Regions from separate parts of the Homo sapiens genome. Here region 1 is linked to region 2. The links are contacts of gene promoters, found by promoter capture Hi-C in human tissues and cell types (Jung and others, 2019). All regions are on one chromosome and are shown on one strand. Each heading gives the region's core, a stretch centred on a gene start or on the middle of the fragment in contact. The rest is flanking DNA. Distances are from core to core; before and after follow the strand shown.

What was found. The method cuts DNA at HindIII sites, captures the fragments that hold promoters and counts their contacts. A contact is called where the count stands out against the background at its distance.
Region 1: a contact is called between a fragment that was not itself captured here and the fragment with the promoter of NFATC4 in region 2, in 11 of the 25 tissues and cell types used here (H1 embryonic stem cells, IMR-90 fibroblasts, aorta and 8 more).

What each region holds. Positions count from the first base shown.
Region 1 is chr14:24,433,782-24,437,262 of GRCh38, forward strand. KHNYN (KH and NYN domain containing) reads left to right here. Exons shown (of 8, transcript NM_015299.3): 6 at 2,291-2,398; 7 at 2,607-2,708; 8 at 3,255-3,481. Among named protein-coding and RNA genes, the nearest start is that of KHNYN, 5.6 kb to the left of the region's middle. The HindIII fragment of the contact is 4,482 bases long and covers 1-3,481 here.
Region 2 is chr14:24,366,473-24,370,027 of GRCh38, forward strand. NFATC4 (nuclear factor of activated T cells 4) reads left to right here and starts at 1,712. Exons shown (of 10, transcript NM_004554.5): 1 at 1,712-1,968; 2 at 3,027-3,555. The coding sequence starts at 1,869. LOC124903291 (a long non-coding RNA gene) reads right to left here and starts at 2,913. Exons shown (of 2, transcript XR_007064085.1): 1 at 2,775-2,913; 2 at 1-55. RefSeq lists silencers at 143-452, 2,171-2,550 and an enhancer at 3,513-3,555. The HindIII fragment of the contact is 13,574 bases long and covers 1-3,392 here.

The DNA of each region.
Region 1 (3,481 bases), core at 722-3,221, 68 kb after region 2:
AGAGTGGTTACCTGTCTTAGCAAAGGGGAATTAGACCTCAAAGCTGCCAGATGGTTTGAATGAAAATACAAGGCACACTTCTACCATAGTCTGCCTAGGTGGTGTGAGAAATGAGCAGATTTTAGAAAGCCAAGTTAAAAAATTTACAAGTTCTTTATTCTCTAGGACATTATACAGTTTTTAAAAATTAGTTTTTCCAAACCATAGTGATTATATACTTTGTCTTTTCAAACACTTACCTTCTATTCCTTAACAAGCAAATGGTATTCTACAAAAAAGCAGTTTACGTTCTCCCAATGTTATTCTATTTATATCTAGATGTCACAGATTACCCAAGATATGGAATCTTCTTTCCACACCTGCATTGAAACAGAATTGAAACTGAAGATTGAGTTCGTTTTAATGAATGTTAAAGGCATGTGTCTGCCCAGTTGTGTGGGACCTGGTTGGCAGATAACATAATATAAATTGGGAATTCGCCCAGTAACAGTGAATAAGCACAGTGGTACACAGCGTAGGCATACGGAATGAATGTTGCTGAACAACATACTGTGTAATGCGATCATAGTAAAATATGCTTAACTGGAAAATACCATTTGCATACCATAAGTGTACCATATAATTTTTTTTTGGTTTGTTTTTGAGACGGAGCCTTGCTCTGTCGCCACGCTGGAGTGCAGTGGCACGATCTCGGCTCACTGCAACCTCTGCCTCCCAGGTTCAAGTGATTCCCTTACCTCAGCCTCCCGAGTAGCTGGGACTTCAGGTGCATGCCACCGTGCCCAGCTAACTTTTTGCATTTTAGTAGAGATGGGGTTTCACCATGTTGGCCAGGGTGGTCTTGATTTCCTGACCTCATGATCCGCCCACCTCAGCCTCCCAAAGTGCTGGGATTACAGGCGTGAGCCACCAAGCCCGGCCATAGACATTTGTATGTCATTCCCTTAATTTGTTTCCCAGACAGAAGCTCAGAGCCTGATATCTGTCACACCTAATCCTGACTCCCAGTTCCCCCTATACCACACTATCTTTCAAATACTGACTGCTCACTTAGTACTAGGTGCATGGCCTGCAGGAGGAGGTGGGAACACTGGGAACAAGATCTGATTCTTGACTAGAGAGCCGAAAGAAACCATAAATCAAACACTACAGGAACTCAGAGGGAAAGGAGCCCCATTCTGGCTGGGGTTTTGTGGGAAAGGAGAGATTTGTGAGTTTTTGTGTTGAGAAGACTGGGATGGGTTGGATCTCTGTTTCTAAATCTGTTAAAAAGACCACCACCCATCACTTCATGAGTCCTACCCTGTCTTGTGGAATCAGAATTACTGAATGGAGCCCAGGCATTTTTTAAAAAAGTTCCCTTGGTAATTCTGTTCCTTAGCAAGTCTTGGGAAGTGCCTTCCAGATAGAGGAAATAGTTGGAGAAATATGGAAGTCAGCATAAGACATATGTGGAGAGCAGAGTGTAATCTGATTATTGATTTTAGCTGGAGTTGAGAGTGGGTTAGGGAATATTGGGAGAGATAAGGCTGTAAGGGTGATTTGAGCTGGCCTGTAGAAGGCCTTAGCTGCCAGGCCTGGGTGTGTGGACTTTATTTGGTAAATAAAGGGCAAGTGTGGAAGAGTTTTGTGTAGGTGATAAGCATGCTTTCTTGGGGCAGGGCAGGGGAGACTGGAGGGTGGGTGAGTGGTCAGAGGCGGGGACCCCCTTGTTAGGAGGTTATGCATAATCTCAGTTGCAATATCTGAATTACTGGGGTGGTAATGGTGGGCCTGGGAAGGAAGGGAGCAGAGCACAAGGCTTTTCAAAGGAAAGGCATGTTGGATTTGCAAGGGATTGGTTGGGCAGGGTGGAAGACAGAGCTAGATCTTACTGTTTACTAACGAGGCACAAAGTGTTGGGTGAAGGACTATGGTTGGCAGATAGGATGCTACTGGGAGACCACCTTGGATTCATCTTTGTTTCCTCTCTAGGCCATGGCACTTGCATCTAGTCAGTTGCCTGTAGCTGGGTCAAGGTGAGGTAGGGGGCCAGATCTCCATCACCAGAAGTGGCCTATGGGAGACAGTAAAACTTCTGGGGTTGGGGCCTTGGAGAGTCCCAAATGGTTGCTGTGGTTTTTACTTTTATTTTTGTAGATTTGGGGGATACCAATACAGTTTTGCTACATAGATATATTGCATAGTGGTGAAGTCTAGGCTTTTAATGTAACCATGATCCAAACAGTGAACATTGTACCCAGTAGGTAATTTTTCAACCCTCTCTCGGTTGCTGTGGTTTTGGAGACAGGTTCATGGTGAAGCTGGCTGAAGAGACAGATGGGATAATTGTCTCCAATGACCAGTTCCGGGACCTGGCGGAGGAGTCTGAGAAGTGGATGGCAATCATCAGAGAACGGTGAGGGAGCCCTCCCGCTGAGAACTGGGCACAGATGCAGATGTTTTTCTAAAGCCAGCTCTGCTCTGGCCATGGGGTGAAAACTCTGGGAAGGAGGTGAAGTTTTCTTGAAGGATGGAGCCAGCAGCTTCTGGTGATACTGGTCTCGGTTGTCTGGGAGGTGGGCAAGGGCCCCCTCTGTGACCACACATTATCTTTCGCCATCCAGCCTGCTGCCCTTTACCTTTGTGGGAAACCTCTTCATGGTACCTGATGACCCACTGGGGCGAAACGGCCCCACCCTGGATGAATTTCTGAAGAAGCCAGCCAGGTAATCAATCCCCTAGACTACTTACAGGCAGCCCCCACCCCTGGCCCTCTCTCAGCAGGCCCAGAGACTTGGGTGGAAGTGTGACCTCAGTTTGGGCCAGCTTAATTTTGCAGTGGTTTGAGTTGCATTGGCCTTGGCCTTTATAAGCTTCCCAGGGGATCCTGACATAGAACCTCCTTGCTGGGAGGGAAACACCTGCTTCCTGTTTCTCTTAATCAGCATGTTTGATGGAGTTATTTGGAAAATGGTTGCTTATACTGACAGCCAGTTGTATTCAGCATGCCTTCTGCTGACCATTACATAAGTGATTCATTTAGGACTAGAACTAGATCATAATAGTGGCAGAGTTCACCCTGTTTCTAAAAGAACGGCCCATCTTCCCTTCAGAAGTGGGTTGATACTGCCACTCAGTGGTCAGCTTCAGGAACTTCAGGATTTCTCCCCCAAAGCCAGGAATAGGCAGGACAATTACGAGAGGGGTGCCCACTAAGATCTAATTTCCCCCCCAGGATGCTCATCAGCTCTTTTTGGTCTGTTTCTTCCCAGGACACAGGGGTCTTCTAAGGCTCAGCATCCTTCCAGGGGCTTTGCAGAACATGGTAAACAGCAGCAGGGGAGAGAAGAGGAAAAAGGTAGTGGTGGCATTCGGAAGACCCGGGAAACAGAGCGGCTCCGGCGGCAGCTGCTGGAGGTGTTTTGGGGTCAGGATCACAAAGTGGACTTCATCCTGCAGCGGGAGCCATACTGCCGGGACATCAACCAACTGTCTGAGG
Region 2 (3,555 bases), core at 462-2,961:
CCCGTGGGTTTCTCCTTCCTTTATTTCCGAGATGAAGCTGGAAGGGAAATGTAACCTGAGGAGACCAACCAAAGGAAAAAAAAGAAAAAAAAAAGAAAAAAAAAAAAAAGAAAGAAGAAAATCAAACCAGGCCGCTTCCCCGCTCGGCCTCGGAACATTCTTCTCTCCCCGCCGGCCTGGGCTCTTCTCCCCGCCCCTCCTGTGTTGCGGCCCTGGGCTCGGAGCCGGGGCAGCTCCGCACGTCACTGGGGTCCCCGGGGACTGGGGGGGTGGTCCCCTGGGCGGGCCCGAGGGAGGACCGAGGGGAGGGAGGGAAGCCGCCTCGGCCGCTGCGGAGCTCCGGCCCGTCGGGCCAGCCCTCCCTTCTTTCCCCAGTCCCGTAGAGCCTGTTTCTCATTAGAGTAACGGGCGCGGTCCCCGCCCGGCTTCTGAGTGTTTGTAAACGTCTGACCTGGGGCCGTCGCTTAACCGTTTAGTTGCTGGGATGGGGCGGCGTTGGGGGTGCGGCCCTGAACCGGAGGGATTTAGAGACTGGAGACGCGGCCTCTAAGAGAGGTTGAAACTGTGTGTGTGTGGGAGAAAATGATAACCACCCTCCCATCTCTCCTACCCGCCAGCCTCGCCAGTATCTCCCACCGAGTCACGAATCTCCCATCTAACTCCCTCTCACACAACCCAGGCCTCTCCAAGCCTGACTTTCCCGGAAACTCCAGTCCAGGTCTTCCTTCCTCCTCCAGCCCAGGTGACAGGTGTCCAGCCTGTTGGGGGCGGGGGGGCCAAGGAGGGGGAAGAGGAGGGGAACCCACAGGGTCCGGAGGTTTCAGGCCCCTAGTAAACCTGGCAAGGATTTTTAGAAGAGCCGGAGTGGGATGCTATCGGGTCAGAGATTCATTCCAGACTACAGTTCTAGGGAGGAGGCTGCCAACTTCCCGTGGAGGCTAATTCACGGCCCCTCTGGGTGGCTGGGACAAGGGCAGCGGCAAAGCCTGGCCTGGATCTACGCCCATCAAGGGCTGTGGGCCTAGGGACAGTTCTCAAAGCCTCTTTGGCTCGGACTGCTCCCAGAGGCATCCAGGCTGGCTAAGCGTTCTTCATCTTTGGGGGTCCTGGAGGAATGGCTGATGGAGGCGCTGATTCGGCAGCGCAAAGACTTCCAGAAGGCCCGGGCAGAGTAGCCCCAGGCAAGGGAGGCGGAAGAATAGCCTTTTCCTCTTCCGAGCAACTCGGTGCCACTCTGCCCCCAGGACCCTCCTGGCCTCAGGCTTGGAGGGAAAGGGGAGGAGAAGTGGTTCTGCCTTGCTAGGTGCTATCTACACAGTCTTCAGAATTTAAAAAAGGGTCTTCCGTGGGCTCTCTACCCTGGGGGCCCAGGATGTGGCCCCTTTAAGGCTCTCGGACCCAGAACCTTGAACTGAGACTAGGGGAGGTGGGGGCTGGGCTCTCTGCGGGAAATGATTGTCACAACGGCGGACCAATAGGCAACATTAGTATCACTCTTGAAGGACCGTTTTCCAATTCAGTTTTTTTTTTTTTGAGGGGGAGGGACTGAAGAGAGGACAGAGGGAGGGAGGGTGGGGGAGGACGAGGGGCGCGTGGTTTTCCCATCTCATCCCTGGAGGAGGGGCTGGAGCATCCCCGGCAGCCAATCAGGGACAGGCTGGGGGGGGGACCGCTTTGAAGAAGTTTGGGGGAAAAAAGTTTGGAAAAGTTTCTATAATAACGAGGGGGCTTCTGGAGGGAGGCGGCAGCGACGGAGGAGGGGGCTTCTCAGAGAAAGGGAGGGAGGGAGCCACCCGGGTGAAGATACAGCAGCCTCCTGAACTCCCCCCTCCCACCCAGGCCGGGACCTGGGGGCTCCTGCCGGATCCATGGGGGCGGCCAGCTGCGAGGATGAGGAGCTGGAATTTAAGCTGGTGTTCGGGGAGGAAAAGGAGGCCCCCCCGCTGGGCGCGGGGGGATTGGGGGAAGGTTAGTGCTGGGCTGGGAAGGGGTCTTGGGGTCAGTGAGAGGAGGGCCGGGGATCCTGAGTCTGGGGAATTTAAGGCAGCGAGCCTAGGGTGGGGGGTGAGGGAGTCAGAGGTCGAAGGGAGTCGGGGGGACTCGTTGGCCTGCGGAAGTGAGGCTGGGGGCCCGGGCACCACTTTCTCCTTTTTAGGTCGTGACTGGGGTGGGGGTGGGGGTGCTGTTGGCTGTGCGCCGCCTCCCGGCTGGGCCGCCTGTCACTGAACTGGGGGGCGGGCGGGAACTACGGCCCCAACAGCACCAGGCGCCGCCAGGGGAAGGGGAGGTTTGGCGCTGGAGCTGGCCCCTGGCGGACCGAGCTCTGGCCCGGCCGACTGGACGCCCGGGGCTGGGGGCGCTGTCAGGCCTCGCTGGGGCGCCCCTCCCCCTCCCCCGTCTGGCCGCAATGAGAGGCAGATGGCGGGGACCGAGCCGGGGGCGGCGGCCGCCGCTCGCACGAATCCGCGCTGCCCGCTGCCCCCCTTCCCCCGGCTGGGCCCAGCACGCATCACCCCCTCGGCTGCACCTCCGCCCCTAGATGGCGAGGAGAGAGGGAGGAGCCACCTCCCCTCGTCACCACAGCCCTGACGCCCCCCTCCCCTCTGGCCACGGTTGCGATGGCAACTGGGGCTCCTGCCAGCGCCGTTTGGGGGTTTGGGAACCGCTGCTAATTGGGTTCATGTGTGAGTCGCCCCCAGTCCAGCCCAGTGCCTCAAGAAACACGCCTCCAGGCCCAGCCCCAGCTCCAGCCCCTCTGGACCCACCTCTCTCACCTTAAGACCCACTGGATCGGGTACCCTCGGTCCTAGGATCCAGGGGCCAGTGGGCAAAGGCCTGGCATGCCTGCTTCAATCTCCTCCATCTTCCCAGGTCCAACTCTGCTTTTGTCTTGTGGCTCAGAAGGTCTCTTTGCTGAGGGGCAGGGAGCATAGAAGGACTTGCGGCCTGGCCACTCAAGGAACATAGCCATCTCACCTGCTTCTCTCTTTCCCCCTCTCCCTCTGCTCCTCTTCCCATTTTGACAGAACTGGACTCAGAGGATGCCCCGCCATGCTGCCGTCTGGCCTTGGGAGAGCCCCCTCCCTATGGCGCTGCACCTATCGGTATTCCCCGACCTCCACCCCCTCGGCCTGGCATGCATTCGCCACCGCCGCGACCAGCCCCCTCACCTGGCACCTGGGAGAGCCAGCCCGCCAGGTCGGTGAGGCTGGGAGGACCAGGAGGGGGTGCTGGGGGTGCTGGGGGTGGCCGTGTTCTCGAGTGTCCCAGCATCCGCATCACCTCCATCTCTCCCACGCCGGAGCCGCCAGCAGCGCTGGAGGACAACCCTGATGCCTGGGGGGACGGCTCTCCTAGAGATTACCCCCCACCAGAAGGCTTTGGGGGCTACAGAGAAGCAGGGGGCCAGGGTGGGGGGGCCTTCTTCAGCCCAAGCCCTGGCAGCAGCAGCCTGTCCTCGTGGAGCTTCTTCTCCGATGCCTCTGACGAGGCAGCCCTGTATGCAGCCTGCGACGAGGTGGAGTCTGAGCTAAATGAGGCGGCCTCCCGCTTTGG